2 separate regions of the Homo sapiens genome follow, and region 2 is linked to region 1. Evidence: promoter capture Hi-C in human tissues and cell types (Jung and others, 2019). All regions are on one chromosome and are shown on one strand. Each heading gives the region's core, a stretch centred on a gene start or on the middle of the fragment in contact. The rest is flanking DNA. Distances are from core to core; before and after follow the strand shown. Region 1 holds the start of TCTN2 (tectonic family member 2). Region 2 overlaps PITPNM2 (phosphatidylinositol transfer protein membrane associated 2).

Evidence for each region. Contacts are between HindIII fragments. The study calls those that stand out against the background at their distance.
Region 2: a contact is called between a fragment that was not itself captured here and the fragment with the promoter of TCTN2 in region 1, in 1 of the 25 tissues and cell types used here (dorsolateral prefrontal cortex).

What each region holds. Positions count from the first base shown.
Region 1 is chr12:123,669,246-123,673,174 of GRCh38, reverse strand. It overlaps TCTN2 (tectonic family member 2), which reads right to left and starts at 2,062. Exons shown (of 18, transcript NM_024809.5): 1 at 1,853-2,062; 2 at 1,561-1,668; 3 at 1,043-1,119. The coding sequence starts at 1,934. The HindIII fragment of the contact is 13,736 bases long and covers 422-3,929 here.
Region 2 is chr12:122,984,692-122,988,620 of GRCh38, reverse strand. PITPNM2 (phosphatidylinositol transfer protein membrane associated 2) reads left to right here. Exons shown (of 26, transcript NM_020845.3): 20 at 271-387; 21 at 720-836; 22 at 962-1,110; 23 at 1,191-1,340; 24 at 1,792-1,975; 25 at 2,057-2,185; 26 at 2,271-3,929. The coding sequence ends at 2,594. Among named protein-coding and RNA genes, the nearest start is that of ARL6IP4, 6.0 kb to the right of the region's middle. The HindIII fragment of the contact is 7,000 bases long and covers 1-3,929 here.

The DNA of each region.
Region 1 (3,929 bases), core at 813-3,312:
GTTGCATATACTAGGTATCCAATAAACACTTATTAAATAGAAGATGCTTAATCTCTCCAGGTTTGAGTATCCTTACACATAAGCTCAGAGTTGGGCAAGATCAGTGGTTATGAAGCTTTTTTTTTTGAGACGGAGTCTCGCTCATCACCCAAGCTGGAGTGCAGTGGCGTGATCTCGGCTCACTGCAATCTCTGCCTCCCGGGTTCAAGTGATTCTCCTGCCTCAGCCTCCAAAGTAGCTGAGATTACAGGCACCCGCCATCACGCCCAGCTAATTTTTGTATTTTTAGTAGAGATGGGTTTCACCATGTTGGCCAGACTGGTCTTGAACTCCTGACCTCAGATGATCCGCCCTCCTCGGCCTCCCAAAGTGCTAGGATTACAGGCGTGAGCCACCGCGCCTGACCAGCTTTTTCTTTTTTTTTAAGAGACAGGGTCTTGCTCTGTTGCCCAGGCTGGATGAAGTGCAGTGGTGCGATCATAGCTCTCTGCAGCCCTGAACTCCTGGGCTCAAATAATCCTCTTGCCTCAGCTACCCCACCCCCCTCCAAGTATCTGGGACTGTAGGTGTACGCCACCCACCTAATTTTTTTTTTAATTGTTTTGTAGAGACGAGGTCTCGCTATGTTACAGGCTGGTCTGGAACTCCTGGGCTCAAGCAATCCTCCCGCCTCAATCTCCCAAAGCGCTATGAGTACAGGCGTGAGCCACGATGCCTGGCATAAAGCTTTTTTGAATCACTGACCCATTTGATGATCTAAAGGAAACTGGTGACCCTCTCATCAGAAAAATGCACATACACACAGAACTTTACATACAATTTCATAGAGTTCACAGACCCACTGAAATACATCCAAGGACTCCTAACCCCAGGGTAAGGAACCCGTGGGCTGGATAAGTGTCTACCAGATCCAACAGCCCACAATTTCATGATTGTTGAGAGCATGGAGAAAGCCATGCCTTGTTAAATAAAGAGAGCACTGCAGAAACCCTAGCTGGGGGCCTCTTCACAGGCTACAGAGAAGGTTTACTTCTGGCCTTACCGCACCGGGGATCACAGTCACGCTCCAGTCTTCCGTCTCATTGTTCAGCACTCCACACGTCGGAATTGGCAATATTCCTAAAGAAAGAAGACCAGCATGCAAAGGCAGCAAGGTCCAGCAGCTCAGGGGGTGCATTGAGTCAGACTGCCTAGGATGGACTCACATTACAGCCTAAGATTGGGCCCTTTACAAGCTGCTTGACACTGGGACAGTGACAACCTCTCTGAACTTGTTTCTTCCTTGGTCAAAGGGGATGAAAAGATATTACTGTTCTTACTAGGAAAATGGGATGATGCACGATGTTAGCTCAATGAATGCTAACCATTATTATTTCAGGCTTTCTTCGAACCTGTCCGTCTGTCCTCTTTGGCCTACAGCAGCCGCCCGATCCTTTTCTCCCCATGCGACTTTGCAGAGAACAGAGGCAGGGGGCCCCAAGGATGCCACCTCTCCAGGCTCCTTGGGAGGTCTGGATCCAGTCCAACCCCCACCCTCCCCAAAAGAGGGCCGGACTTTACCCGCCTCGTCCTGCAGCACTGCCAGGGACACGGTCACACCCTCGGTGTCTCCGACCAGGGACGCGCTGACCGCAGGGCCGGACATTCGGATAAAAGGAGGGATGAAAGCTAGGCGGGAAGGAAAGGGGACAAGGAGGGGTTAGCAGTGGAAGAATCACCGCCTAAGGTGTGTGTGGCGGCTTGCTTTGGCGTTGTCGACTCCCGAAGCTCCCGGGGGAGTCCAAGTCTGGCCCTTTTAACGCCCAGTCCCCTCAGCCCCGGCCCACCGAGGTCACTGCCGCGCCGTACACACCCAGGTCCCCCCACAGAAGCCTCAGGATGCCCTGCAGAAGGAAAAGCCTCAAAAGAAGAGCGGCCGGAGGCTGGAAGCCCATGCCTTAGACCTCGCGGGCCGGGCACAGCAGAACCGCGCCCTCATTAGAACCCAGGAAGGACTCAGACACGAAAACGCAGCAGCCACTGCCCCGCCGCCGCCATCTTGCAAGCGAACGCCCGGAGCTATGGCAACCACCAATCGGCGGCCGGCCAGGAGGAACGCCGCGCTGTGATTGGACCAGTGGCAAGAGCGGGCACCCCGGCCCCGCCCACAAGGCCTAGCATTTTTGCTGCTTGACTCTGGTGGGGAGAGTGAGGGCTGAAAAACTACCTATCCGGTGCTCCACTTAGTACCTGGGTGACGAAACAATCTGTGCACCCAACCCCCGTGACACGCAATTTACCTATATAGCAACCTGTACATGGACCCCTGGGCCTAAAAGTTGAAAACATCAAAATTAAAAAGGTCCTGAAAAGCAGGAGTGCGTGTCCGGCTCAAAAACTGGAGTTTTCCCCTACCCTGGAATTAATCCAACAATAGCCAAGAGCGATCCTATAGACACTGGCTTCTAAATAAAAAGGGTGGGACTTGCTCCTTAATAAACTTGATTTTTATACGGATTTGTTTTAGGGGTGAGTAGAAAAAGGGGATGGGGCTGCCGCGCTGTGTTTATTATCTTTACTATCGTTTATGATGTATTATTTATATTTTATATTTTTATAAAATAAATATATATTTACAAAATAGATATACTTTGTTTTATATATATATATCAGATATACATACTTGATATATATAAAATACATATAGGCCGGGTCTGGCGGCTCATGCCTGTAATCCCAGCAATTTGGGAGGCCGAGGCGGGCGGATCACAATGTCAGGAGTCTGAGACCAGCCTGATCAACATGGTGAAACCCCGTCTCTACTAAAAATACAAAAAATTAGCCAGGCGTGGTGGCAGGCGCCTATTATCCCAGCTACTCAGGAGGCTGAGGCAGGAGAATTGTATGAATCTGGGAGGCGGAGGTTGCAGTGAGCCGCGATTGCACCACTGCACTCAAACCTGGGCGACAGAGCCAGACTCCGTCTCAAAAATATATTTATTTATTTATTTATCTTATAAAATATATATGTATTTATATTTTATCTTATATATATTTATCTTTTATATAAGTATATATTTTGTAAATTTTATACTTATATGTTATAATTTTATAAAATTTATATTTTTATAATTCTTATCATTATCATTTATTATCACTATTGCTTTTATTATCATTCTCCTAGGTTTTTGAAGGATTTTCTCCCCTGCACAGAGCTCTCAGCACTCTGAAAGCAGATCCAATCACAGAACACACAAGAGGTTTTGCCCAGCAATAGGACAGATGTGAAAGAATCAAAATTCTGTCTGGAAAAAAATTGTTTTTTCTTATATCAGTAGCCTCAGAACATTTCAAATATTGTCACGGCTTGGGGACTGAGAGTGCAGGGTCTGAGGTCAGGCTGCCTGGCATGGGATTTCGCCTTCCCTCCACAGATATTCTCAGCTGTTAAGTGACTTTGGGCAAGTCAACCTCTCTAAGTTTCAGCTTCCTCATCTATAAAAAAGGGATGATAATAATCCTTCCTTGGGGATTGTGTGAGGATGAAATGAGGTAACATATCTAATGAGGTTAAACCAATGGCTGGCATACAGTAAGCACTCAGTTAATGATCAGTTACTTGTTAACTATCAGAGAGGTGGTGTATCCTTTAGCTGAGACAATCATGGTGTTCAGCATTGTGGCTGACTGACGGTAAATGCCAAGTAAATGTTTGCCATTATTAGTCTTTTTTTTTTTTCTTTTTGAGACAGGGTCTCACTCTGTCACCCAGGCTGGAATGGTGCAGTGGCACAATCATAGCTCACTGCATCCTCAAACTTCTGGGCTCAGCTGATCCTCCCACCTCAGCCTCCCAAGTAACTGGCAATACACCACCACACCCGGCTAATTTTTGTATTTTTTATAGAGACGGGGTTTCACCATGTGGCCCAGGCTGGTCTCAAACTCCT
Region 2 (3,929 bases), core at 987-3,486, 680 kb after region 1:
ATCAGATCACAGAGCAAGCAAGATGAGGGCACCTTTATGCTCGGGTGTATTCAGGCTTTTCAGGACATTGGGATGGAGGGAACATATCTGCACATTCGTCAGGTGAACGAACAGGGGTCTGAGGGCTACTGGGCAGACAGTAGTGAGTTGAAGAACACCCCCTACAACCCACAGGCTCCTCTTGCTCCCGGGTACTGGGCCTCCTCCTCCCAGGGCAGGAAGCCCCCGGGTGGCATCTGCCCCACAGCCTGCACTGTCCCCTCTTCCCAGGTCATGAGGCATGACAACTCCAGCATCTTGGAGCTGGATGGCAAGGAAGTGTCGGTGTTCACCCCCTCAAAGCCAAGGGAGAAGTGGCAGCGCAAGCGGACCCACGTGAAGCTGCGGGTGAGGGTCCCCCGGGCGCCCAGGCCCCCACGATGTCACCCTGTCACCAGCCTCCGTGTCCAGATGAGGAAACTGAGTTGCAGGGAAGCCTGCAGTCTTATGTACCTTCCCAGGCCATGAGGTTGGAGCTGTCAGCCCACTTCACAGACAGGGAAGGCAGCAAGGCTTCCTAGTTTCTCCAAAGCCACGTCATCGTGTCTGATCCAGACTCAGACATGGGCTGCGCAGCTCACAGCTCAAGCCTGCCCCTCAGGCCCACAGAGCTTGAGCAGAACACAGGGACCCGGGGTGCCCTCCGACCCCCTGACCTGGGCTTGCCACTCCCTCCACAGAACGTGACGGCCAACCACCGGATCAATGATGCCCTTGCCAATGAGGACGGCCCCCAGGTTCTGACGGGCAGGTTCATGTATGGGCCCCTGGACATGGTCACCCTGACTGGGGAGAAGGTAAGGACACGGCGGGTAGGGGTAACATGGAGGGACTTTGGGGAGCTCCCTGCTGCCCTCTGGCCGGGGTGCAGGGGGTGGAGAGGCCAGACACAGCCAGCCCGTGACCAGCCTGCTGGGCCCAGGTGGATGTGCACATCATGACCCAGCCGCCCTCAGGCGAGTGGCTCTACCTGGATACGCTGGTGACCAACAACAGTGGGCGTGTCTCCTACACCATCCCTGAGTCGCACCGCCTGGGCGTGGGTGTCTACCCTATCAAGATGGTGGTCAGGTATATGCCTGCACTGGGAGGGCGGGATAGGCAGGGCGAGGCTCTGGGTGGTTCTGATGAGCACCCCCACCACCTGCCAGGGGAGACCACACGTTTGCCGACAGCTACATCACCGTGCTGCCCAAGGGCACAGAGTTCGTGGTCTTCAGCATCGACGGTTCCTTTGCCGCTAGCGTGTCCATCATGGGCAGCGACCCCAAGGTGCGGGCCGGGGCCGTGGACGTGGTGCGGTGAGTGGCCCAGAGGGGCACAAAGGGGCTGTAGCAAGGTGGGTGGGCTCAGGGGCTCCCACCAGCCAGGTGGAGGAGGACAGCGGAGCCTCTGTGGGGGACGCCTGGCTCGGGCACTGGGCCTTAAGGACCTCAGTTCAGAGCCCAGCACCCCCAATTATTAGCCGTGTCACCTTGGGCAAGCGATGTCACTTCTCAATGTCGGCTTTCAATTCCCGCATCTGGAAGGTGAGGCTGGTAAGCCAGGGACACAGCAGCAGGGGCATCTGCCGCCCAGTGCGGGCACCCAAGGGCCTGCTGCAGCACGTCATTGTCAACCATTGTCGTCGTTACTGTCTGAGCTCAATCAGAGATGTGCTTTCCAATGGCCCAAGTGGGCCCTGGCTGGGCAGGAGACAGGGAGGCCCAGGAGGGAGGAAGGGGTGACCATGAGACGACACCTCACCCCCAGGCACTGGCAGGACCTGGGCTACCTCATCATCTACGTGACGGGCCGGCCCGACATGCAGAAGCAGCGGGTGGTGGCGTGGCTGGCCCAGCACAACTTCCCCCATGGCGTGGTGTCCTTCTGTGACGGCCTGGTGCATGACCCGCTGCGGCACAAGGCCAACTTCCTGAAGCTGCTCATCTCCGAGGTGGGGCCCGGGAGGATGGGGCAGGGCAGGGGTGGGGGCAGAGGGACCATGGTGCCTGTGCCCATGCCAGTCTCCCCACAGCTGCACCTGCGCGTGCACGCGGCCTATGGCTCCACCAAGGACGTGGCGGTGTACAGCGCCATTAGCCTGTCCCCCATGCAGATCTACATCGTGGGCCGGCCCACCAAGAAGCTGCAGCAGCAGTGCCAGGTGAGTGGGCGCATTGTGGGGGCGGGTGCAGGCGGGCAGCTCGGGGAGCCCCAGCCTGTGACAGCCGTCCTCACTGACCCCGCAGTTCATCACGGATGGCTACGCGGCCCACCTGGCGCAGCTGAAGTACAGCCACCGGGCGCGGCCCGCTCGCAACACGGCCACCCGCATGGCGCTGCGCAAGGGCAGCTTCGGCCTGCCCGGCCAGGGCGACTTTCTGCGCTCCCGGAACCACCTGCTTCGCACCATCTCGGCCCAGCCCAGCGGGCCCAGCCACCGGCACGAGCGGACACAGAGCCAGGCGGATGGCGAGCAGCGGGGCCAGCGCAGCATGAGTGTGGCGGCCGGCTGCTGGGGCCGCGCCATGACTGGCCGCCTGGAGCCGGGGGCAGCCGCGGGCCCCAAGTAGGGCACCGTGAGTGCAGCGCGGGGTCTCCATGGTGCTAGGCCAGGGTGGCCAGCCCCGCCAGGAGGCCTGGCCTGGGCACACGCACTGACGTGGGCCTGGGAGATTGTCCCAGGGCCTTGTGGAGGACACGGGCCGCACCACACAGTGCTCCCTGCCCTGCCTCACGTCCTCGGGCCTGACGGGTCCGGCTTGTCATGGAAGCTGGCAGGGACCACCAGCCCCAGGATGGCAGAGGGACCAGAACCTCCCACTCAGACTGGCCCGGGAGGTTCTCCCAGACATTTTGCCCTGTGTGGATCTCCAAGTGTCCTGGTGCCAGGTGTGGGCCCAGGCGCAGCCTGCCACCTCCCCATCCACTGGCCACCCTCACTCCCAGGTCCCCTCCCATTTGGTAGCAGCTCCAACAGGGGTCCAGCCTGCATCTTGTTAACTCGAGTTTCTCAACTGTTCAACCTCACTGGTTTTGCACTGATTTTTGAGAGCGGAGACCCATTACCACCTCCTATGGCTACAGCCCCGTTGACATGCATGAAACTCAGTACCTGCTGACCCAGGACCTACAACCACACTGAAGGCTCCAGTGCGGCAGAGCCTCGTGCAAGCAGGAGAGAAAGGCTGTATCTTAATTTCTGCACCCCGGACCCTGCCCACCTGTCTGCCTGCCCCGCCTGGAGCCCAGGCCAGTGTTGTTTCCAGCCTCAGGCCACGGGCTGGACGGGCCTGGCCGCCTCTTCCGCTCCCTGCCATCAGTCAAGGCCGCCCGCCCACGTTTCTACGCCTTTCTACTTCTCAATCTGATTTCTATGAGGTTTTTTTAAACGAGCAATCCTTGGCTGCTTCCTTTTCTTAACTCTTTCAGTACTGAGAGCAGCCCCTCCACACTGAAAACACCCAGCACTGTGACGGAGTCCAGCCTGGTTCTGGGTCCCGTGGGCCCTGCTCCTGCCCACTTAGCGAGGCATGGGCTCCTTGCCTCACCTGGCCCCGGCAATCCCACTGAATTTCTACTCTGGGGTGGGTGGGGCACACACTTCGGTTTTTTTAATGCCAATTCCGTTTTCATGCCGAATCTAAGAAGCCACAACTTGCTTTGTCAGCTTCAGGGCAGGCAGCCATGACTTCATTTCTCGCCTGAACAAGGACCATGCTGTCCTGCACGCTGGGTCTGACCGTCTGCCCTCTCTCCCCAGCACCAAGCGTGACCTTGGCTGTGGCGCTCAACGGCCAGCTCCGGCGGCCCCTCTGCTGCTCCTCGGCTTTCCCGGAAGTGGGAGAGCCTGCCTGGCCTCGGCCTTTGTCCAGCGACCAGGCTCTGTCCCCGAGAAGCTACGGCCG